Regions from separate parts of the Homo sapiens genome. Here regions 1 and 2 are each linked to region 3. Evidence: promoter capture Hi-C in 16 types of primary human blood cells and fetal thymus (Javierre and others, 2016). All regions are on one chromosome and are shown on one strand. The core of a region is centred on a gene start or on the middle of the fragment in contact, and the rest is flanking DNA. Distances in the headings are between cores, read along the strand shown.

What was found. Contacts are between HindIII fragments. The CHiCAGO score rates a contact against its expected background, and 5 or more counts as called.
Region 1: a contact is called between a fragment that was not itself captured here and the fragment with the promoter of XIRP2 in region 3, in 1 of 17 cell types (fetal thymus). The highest score is 6.0, in fetal thymus.
Region 2: a fragment that was not itself captured here is called in contact with the fragment with the promoter of XIRP2 in region 3 in 1 of 17 cell types (neutrophils); the score reaches 5.3 in neutrophils.

What each region holds. Positions count from the first base shown.
Region 1 is chr2:166,542,439-166,545,140 of GRCh38, forward strand. All of the region lies in intron 1 of LOC124906087 (a long non-coding RNA gene), which reads left to right. Among named protein-coding and RNA genes, the nearest start is that of SCN7A, 50 kb to the left of the region's middle. The HindIII fragment of the contact is 7,882 bases long and covers 1-2,702 here.
Region 2 is chr2:167,385,085-167,387,784 of GRCh38, forward strand. All of the region lies in intron 1 of B3GALT1 (beta-1,3-galactosyltransferase 1), which reads left to right. Among named protein-coding and RNA genes, the nearest start is that of B3GALT1, 93 kb to the left of the region's middle. The HindIII fragment of the contact is 1,721 bases long and covers 558-2,278 here.
Region 3 is chr2:166,887,079-166,889,778 of GRCh38, forward strand. XIRP2 (xin actin binding repeat containing 2) reads left to right here and starts at 1,402. Exons shown (of 11, transcript NM_152381.6): 1 at 1,402-1,479. The HindIII fragment of the contact is 3,763 bases long and covers 363-2,700 here.

The DNA of each region.
Region 1 (2,702 bases), core at 154-2,653, 340 kb before region 3:
AACACTGAAAGATCCCTTATCGGGGTCTGGATAAGAAAAGTAGAAAACAGGATGATATTTTCACCACACAGGTAAATTGAAAATACATATATCCACAAAACATATTACATATTTTAAAAAGCTATATTCAAGGGCATGCATCAAGCAAATTATCTTTGAGATGAGGGGAATAAGAATAGTGTTCATGAAAGAAAGACAAAAATAAAAGGATGATTGGCAGAGATTAATGACGGCAATGTGTTTTTTAGTTTTAAAATATGATTAACTCAGTGATTTGAAACTGAGCTCCAAAAGAAAAATAACTAAAAGGGAAAAAAAGAATGAAAGGAAGAAAAAAGCCACCTAATATCTATCTGCTGCTTAAAGTTCTGAACATTTTATTTAATATTTTAAAATGGACATATGGAGCATTTTAACCAATGGGTACACAGTAAGGAGAAGGAAATCTCCTCTAATGTTTCTAAATGTAAAATTCTTTGTCATTACTTATTCTTGCAACAATTATTTACTGTTGCAATTGTTTATTACTCCACCAAGACCCTTATATCATATATATATACCCTTATATGTATATAATGATTAATGCTTGTCTCTCCTGCTTATTGTTCTATGTGTGCTTTCCATCAGAAGATTCATTCTATTCATCCTAGAATATTCTCAGTCTTAACTCTTTGGGTAATTGTTTGTTTACTTCTTTCTCAATTTCATTTCTCATGTATTCCTATTAGAGATGAATTAGATCTATCTAGTCTGGGCAACATGGTGAAACTCTGTCTCTACAAAAAAAAAAAAAAATTAGCAGGGTGCAGTGGTGCATGCCTGTATTCCCAACTACTTGGGAGGCTGAGGTGAAAGGATGACTTGAGCCTAGGTGGTTGAGATTGCAGTGATCTGCAAACCTGGGCTACAGATCAAGACCCTGTCTCAAAATAAATAAACAAAAGAAAGAGGGAAGAAAGAGAGAGAAGGAAAGAAACAAAGAGAGAGAGAAGGAAAGAAAGAGAGAGAGAGAAGGAAAGAAAGAGAGAAGGAAAGAAAAAGAGAGAGAAGAGAGAGAAAGAAAGAAAAAAAGAAAGAAAGGGGAAGGGGGAAGGAAGGAAGGAAGGGAGGGAGGGAAAAAAGGAAGGAAGAATGGAGGGAAGGAAAGAAGACAAGGAAGGAAAAATGTTAGATTTCTCTAAATGTATCATTGGGCTCTGATCGTCTTTGTGTTTTTGCTCTTAAGTTTACTATGTCTTACATGTTTGTTGTGCATTTATTATGATAAGCAAATATTTGAATTCATTCTTTGGCTATGTCTCTTTTCAACCTAAACAATCTCTTTTTAAATTTTGTTGATTTTAATATTACATTTTTAATATCTAACATTTGAAACTAGTTCTGTTTAATGTCATCCTGCTCTGGTGTTTCCTAGTGTTCTCTTATGCCTTTGATAATCTGCAATATAGTCATTTTAGGTCACCTTAGATCTATCATTTTATATTGTATCTGAAGTGACAACTTCTTGAATTTTGATTTTGTTACCTATTGTTCTTAGCAATCATTTCCCATTTGTGTTGGAATTTGGGTTTGCAGGCACATCTATAGTGGCATTTGTTCTCTGTCTCTCTCTCTCTTGTGCTCACGTTTCTCTTGACTGTAGTTTTGAGTGTCTCAATTTGGATATTATAGTTCCTTACATATAACCAGATGTGATAGTGTCAGCGCTTTAATCTTCGGAGGATTATTGGGGATATCTCAGGTCACAGCATGGTTTAGTAAGCAGGTTCATACTAGTCTTCAGTGGGAAGATTTTTTAATTTTTTTCCCACATCTTTAGGTGTCCCTCTTTGTGGAAGTCATTTCCTTGGGAATAATTACAGCCTTTCTTTGCCCCCTTTATTTGGCGGGCCTGGATTCAGTGTCCACCCCTATGAACCATTTTTAGTCTCGGTTACTCCCTATCTACTCTGCCTGCCACTGGAGACAAAGTCTAATAAATCTAAAGTTTAGATCCTATTTTCTATTTTTACATCTAATTTCATTTCTGGTTCCCTAGATGTTTATCTTGTTTTGGGGTATTTCTATGTTTTTTTTTTTAATTTTTTCTTTCCAGATTGTCTGTATAATCAATATTTCTCTGACGTACAGAGCCTATCTCAAAGAGTTAACTGGTTTCCTTATCTTCTTTTTCATTAAAAACAAAAAAATAAGTAAGTGTAAGACGTAGGGAGATTCGTGTAAAGTCAGTTAAAATAAATTATTTTCTCCAATGAAGCCTTAGCATGTGTAAGTATATTCAAGTCCCCAAGTGATGTTTCAAAAATTACTTTCCTAAACTCATGCAAATTATTTTTAATCTGCTAGTTGCTAGTCAAGATTTTTAAAGTTTAAAATGACAAAATTATAGCTTTTAGAAGACTTAAGCCACTTTTTTTCTTTTGATGACACACCAGCAAAGCATAATTGCAAATAATATTGCTTAATAGACAGACTTATTTTAGTAGCTTAGTCAAACTTATTTTAGTGGATCTATTTTGTAAAAATAAAACTTGACGAATAAATGTGCTCTAACTGAGTCATTAATTCAGACCATTCTCTTTATTGGAAAGTGTAATTTTACACCAACTGTTGGCAACATATAAAATTTTGAAATTGCATTAAAAATAACATAGTACTTATAATTTCACAGGAGTATTTTGGTCACTGAGAGATAAATCTAT
Region 2 (2,700 bases), core at 168-2,667, 500 kb after region 3:
AAGTTTAGTAAAATTTGGGAAGCAAGGCTGCCAACTCAGCACCACTGAGATCTCAGAACCTCTGCTTTCTTGTCATTCTCCCCAAAGAACAGGAGCTCTAACTCCCAAGTGTTTGCCTATGCTGTTCTTTCTACCACAAATGCTCTTCCACCTACTCTGTTTGTCTACTTCCAACTCTCTTTTAACATTCTGCCCACATTCTGCTTCCCCAAGAATTCTTCCTGAACCAGCTCTTCCCTGACACAGAATTAATCACTCCCTAATAGCACTTTAGTGTAACTGTATTTAAACTTAACACCCTGTTTAGAGTTATTTACCTGTCTTCCTCTCTTAGGTGAAATTGTATCTTTTTTATAACCACCACTCCCTGGCACTAATAGAGTACCCATTACTTGGTACATGCTCAGTAAATATTTGAATTTATTGTATGTACAATTTCTCCTAGCCTGAAAAGTCAGGCCTGTGATGGATTGATTTGGGTAGCAATGGTAGGAACAAAGACTAGCTTTCACTAATAACTTGCTGATCAGGCAGCTGAGGGGCAGAGGGTTTATGGAAGCTTCCAAAGACCATACTGCTAGGAAATAACAAAATTGGGACTGGAAACAAGAAAGCATAACTTCAGAGATGCTGCCGTATTAGACACCTTTTTTTTCACCAAAATTGCTGACTTGGTGGACACCACTAGCACAGGTTTCTATCCAAAACAACCCTTTGACTACCATCGAATTCCACTTTGCAGCTCGGCCTCAGGTTTCTTGGAGGATGAGGATTAAAAGGGTTCTATCAACCCATCTCCCCAATTTTCCAGCATATAAACACAGTAATGATTGAAAGGAGAACTGTTTATAAACTTTCATTTATATTCCTGGGAAACATACTTCAAGTAAAACAAATACTACCCAGTTTCTTAGCTCTTTTAACTTTTTATCTTTCTTCATTGTATTGCATATTGCAGTTGAGAAGTCAAAACAGGTTAATTCCCTTCAAGGAGATGCTAAGCCTTTAAGTGGCTTTTGCTAACTGACATAGACGAGACTTGAGATTGATACACAGTAGGAACTCTGGTTATCTTTTCTTCAGCAGGAATTTAGCAATGCCTTTCCTCAGTAGCACTAATGAAGTTCAGCTATGGTTTGAAACTGCTCTGGGTACCTGAGCAGGCCTTTTTTTTAAGATTGCACTGCTCACTCTTTATAAAGAACGTTCTTTATGGTAAAAAAAAAATTCTGCTTCCCAAACCCAGGTGATTAGATTACTGCAAATAGTGGTATTAATTTTATGGTGGGAAATCCAATAGAAAATGAGTGAAAACACACAAAACAGTAGTATAAATAATGGTTCTTAATTGAAGGTGAGCAACAGAGTAACCCAGGAATATGTTTTCAAAATATGTAACAATGCAGCTATCTCCTGTTTTCTTTAGATTCTCAGTACACCTGGGATATCACCAGGTATTGAAATTTTTTTTTTCTGAAAGTTTTTGAAGTAATGATGACATACTATACTGGATTATAAATGTAAGTGATAGTCTCAAATCATGTTACTAGCCTTATACTGCTGTGAGATTTTCTCCTCTCATATCAAAGTCCATACAGTATCAGTGTCTGACATGCAAATTCAGCTTTCCAGTCAGGCTTGGGTCACACAAAATAGGAACTTACATCTTATTGTAAAGTATCCTTCCGCTTCTGGAATTAGAGAAGTCTTTAGCCAATCTTTCTTCTAATGGTGTTTCAAACTAGTTTTAGAAACTTAAACCATTTTTCCCCAAATAAAAGTAGCCCTAACTGTAAAATAGATGAAAGAGAAGACTGGATGAAGTCGAAGCTGCGTTAACTGTCTCTCACCTCCTCTGCCGCTTGAGTGACTCCTTGGTTGCTTTAGGGCTCTGTGGAACACAGATTTCAATACTGGTAGGTAGTCTCATCATATCATATCATATCATTTCATGGGTAAGGAAACTGCCTTGGAAACCAGTGTTAGAACCAGGGAGTCTTCATTGCTGGTCTGATGTACTTGGCATTGTTGTATTTATTTAATTCTGCCAAGAGAGGGCATTAAAAGATATGGTAGGCTGTCATTGTTGTCATTAGCATTTTGATCAACAATATGCCATCCCTAAACTCAGATTTATGACACTGCTAGAATAAATAGAAAAATACATGTAAAATTAAATTAGTTTTATTATTGCATTAAAGAAACCATTTGATTTTGTCAGTTGGGAAAAATCTAATAAAATCAGATGTTACATTAATTAAGTAGAGTCATATAATGAAGCTTCAAAATTGTAAAATTGGATCTGGATAAGGCCCTGTAGAGGAGGCGATATGTTATCTCATCATATAAAGTCTCATTGTGGCTTCTCTTTTATACATTCAACTGCAAAATATCTTATTTGTGCCAAAAAAGACTGAGGGAAATTACAAAGGGAAATGATGGTAAAGAAAACTGAGCCATTTAACTCAACATTATCTTCTTACTTTAGTAACCACTACACTTGCTGTAAAAACTTCGAAAGAGGGTCTGAATCAATTCGTTACTAATGAATCAATTTGTTACTTGCATATTTCATTTTAAATACACCTATTTACTAGTGAAATCATAGAATGTGCTTATTTACGTGCATTTAATTTAGGTTAAATAACTAAGCCATACAATACTGTGGTCATATTTTGTTTGGAAAAGGAAAAAAAAATA
Region 3 (2,700 bases), core at 152-2,651:
TGAAAATTGATTTTTTGATGATATGTTTCAGTAAGTTTTCAACTAAATACTGATGCTGACAGGTCTGTAATTTCTAAAGTTATCTGTTTTTTAATCTTCCCAGAGTAGAAACAAGAAACACACCAAGATAAGTACTGCATTTAGTCTTTTTAATATAGCAGAATGTCTAAGTCCTTTTTAAGTTCATAGATGTTGAGCTAATTGTTCTTTATTGACTTTGGCAAACTCTTGGAAAAATAATTAAGTCACCAGAATTTGCAGTTCAAAATGTGACCAGTTTATAACATTAGCCTTGTAGTCGAACCTTTATATCACACCCTGTATCGTCTCCAAATACCATATCATAACTGCCCTATATTTTAAGCTTTCAAACAAGATTTCTGAAACCTACAGTTTGAATACTGGCTAAGCACTGCAGTTATTTATATAATTTATGGTCATTTTTATATATGAAAATTCATTGATTAAAGTTGTAAGATTTAATTTATTATATTAAAATGCATTTCTGCTATTGAATTCCTTTATGCAAAAAAATCAACATTGTCTTTAGTAGTATATCACTGAACCCCTTATATATAAAAACCCCAGTTTGGAACAAAGAGCTATTAGATGACCAAATAAGAATCAAATTAGACTCTGCAATTAGAGTCTGCGAAGAGAAAGACTTTACTTATTTGAAATAGTATATAGCTTACTATATGTAAAATAAAATAAAATTATCTCAGAAGCTGTGGTCTCCTATAATTTGTAGAAGATGATAACTGATATCGCTAAGCACTTTTTGGTTGCAAATAACTATACTTAAATACTGCTAATAAAAGCTGACATCCGCTGATCACTTGCTTCATACCAAGCACTATCCTAAGTTCTTTATGAGCGTGATTTCATTTATTTTGTTCATCTCACAACAGTATAGTTAGAACATACTATTATCATCCCAATTTTCAAGTGAGGAAACTAATGTTTGGATATATTAAATAATGCATCTAATGTCATATACTAGTGTTTGAGTAGGAATTTGAAGCCATTTGGTTTGAATCTGGACTCTATGTTCATGATCATTATCCAAAATTCTCAGGTGTCCCAACCCCTCACAAATGACTTTGAATTAAATATTAGGTTTATTTTTATATGTATGGAACCTGACGCACAGTGATAATTAAAGTGTAGCTCAGCCATAGAGTGAGCCATTGGTCACTATGGGTCTTTGGGTTAAAACATACCTTTAAGAATATGTAGGAAAAAAATGATAATAGCTAACTCAGCAGCATTCATTAATTCATCTGCAGCAGATTAACTTGTTCCAAAATAATGAGATAATCTGATTCTGATGGAACATGGAGCAGACAAATTCTTCTAGAACCCGACCTGTTTCTATGTGGGTGTATCCAGGAAGTCAGGATTATTTGGAGAAATCTGGCAGGTCTCTAGGCAGACAAAAGGGAACATCTGGTAGGGACTGGGACATGTAGAAAAAAGGTAAGATTTTCCTAAGAAAAACCACTTCTTTCATAATTTTTTCTACACATACATGCTTCTCTTTGATAGTTTCTGACAGGACACTATTTTGCCTCTCTCTCCCTATTTCTTTTAAGTAATATACATTAAATTAGCATAGAATCACAGCATCATCAACAAATTCAGGCTAGCGCTTAGTGACAGACACTGCTGCTAGAATCTCTAGTTATTCATTTGTTTTTCTAACTAAGAAACAATTTAATCTGGGGCAGCAATGTGCCCAGAGAAAAAATAGTTAATCTCTCAGACTCAAAACACGTAAGTTTGGCTATATATTATATTTTTGGACACTGAAAGATAGTCAGGGACTTCTGGGGAAGAAATTTAACAAAAACAGCATCACCCAAAGAAAGCATCTGGGCAATTCTCCTTTCTTCCTTCGTTCCATTGAGTCAGGTCAGAGAGGACTCGCCAGGGACAAAGCCATGACCCTCAGGGACCCAAGGGCATGAGCCTGCAGCTGACAGCCCCATTCTGAATAAGCATTCAGGCACACAGACCAGGGTGGTTGTTGCAAACCCCTCAGCAGCTGCCTCCTGGCACAACCACCCACTAACATGTGATCTAGCAGACAAATGGAAGCTCTTCTTACCCCACTTCTTAGGCACTCCAACAAGGGTTCTGAATTCTAAAAACAGCAAAAAACATTCAAATTGTTACATATGAAATGCTTTCCTGCACCTTTCTATCTCAGAGATGACAGCTGTCCCTCCTCCACTCTCTCCCCACTCGCCCCCAGACACCTCCCTAAACAATTTCTGTGCCAAGATGAAGAGGATGTCCCAGGCCATGGGGCTTCTGGCCTTGAAGGGCTGCTGCAGTGGAGCCAGGGCACAGGGTAGGTGAGACACAGCAGAGGTTCTGGCCCAGGTCCCTGGCCTCTCCTCCTGCAGGTGGCGTTTATTTATTCAAGGGGAGCAACCATGTTCATTTTCCCAACAATGTGGCACCATATTTTGCTTTCCTCTCCACTTCCTTCTTCCTTGCAGCCTTCTCCCACTGTTTCCAGATGATCACCAGCCAGGCAAGGCCCACCTTGGCTTGCTCTGTCTCTCCTGCTAGTGCATTTTCTCCTTAAAAGCTCCTTTAGCCTGTCCAGATCCACTTGTTTGACCTTTCTGGTTGTCTATCCTACCTGCTTGGGGTTCTTGATGTTGATGAGTCCTTCCATGCCTTTGTGCT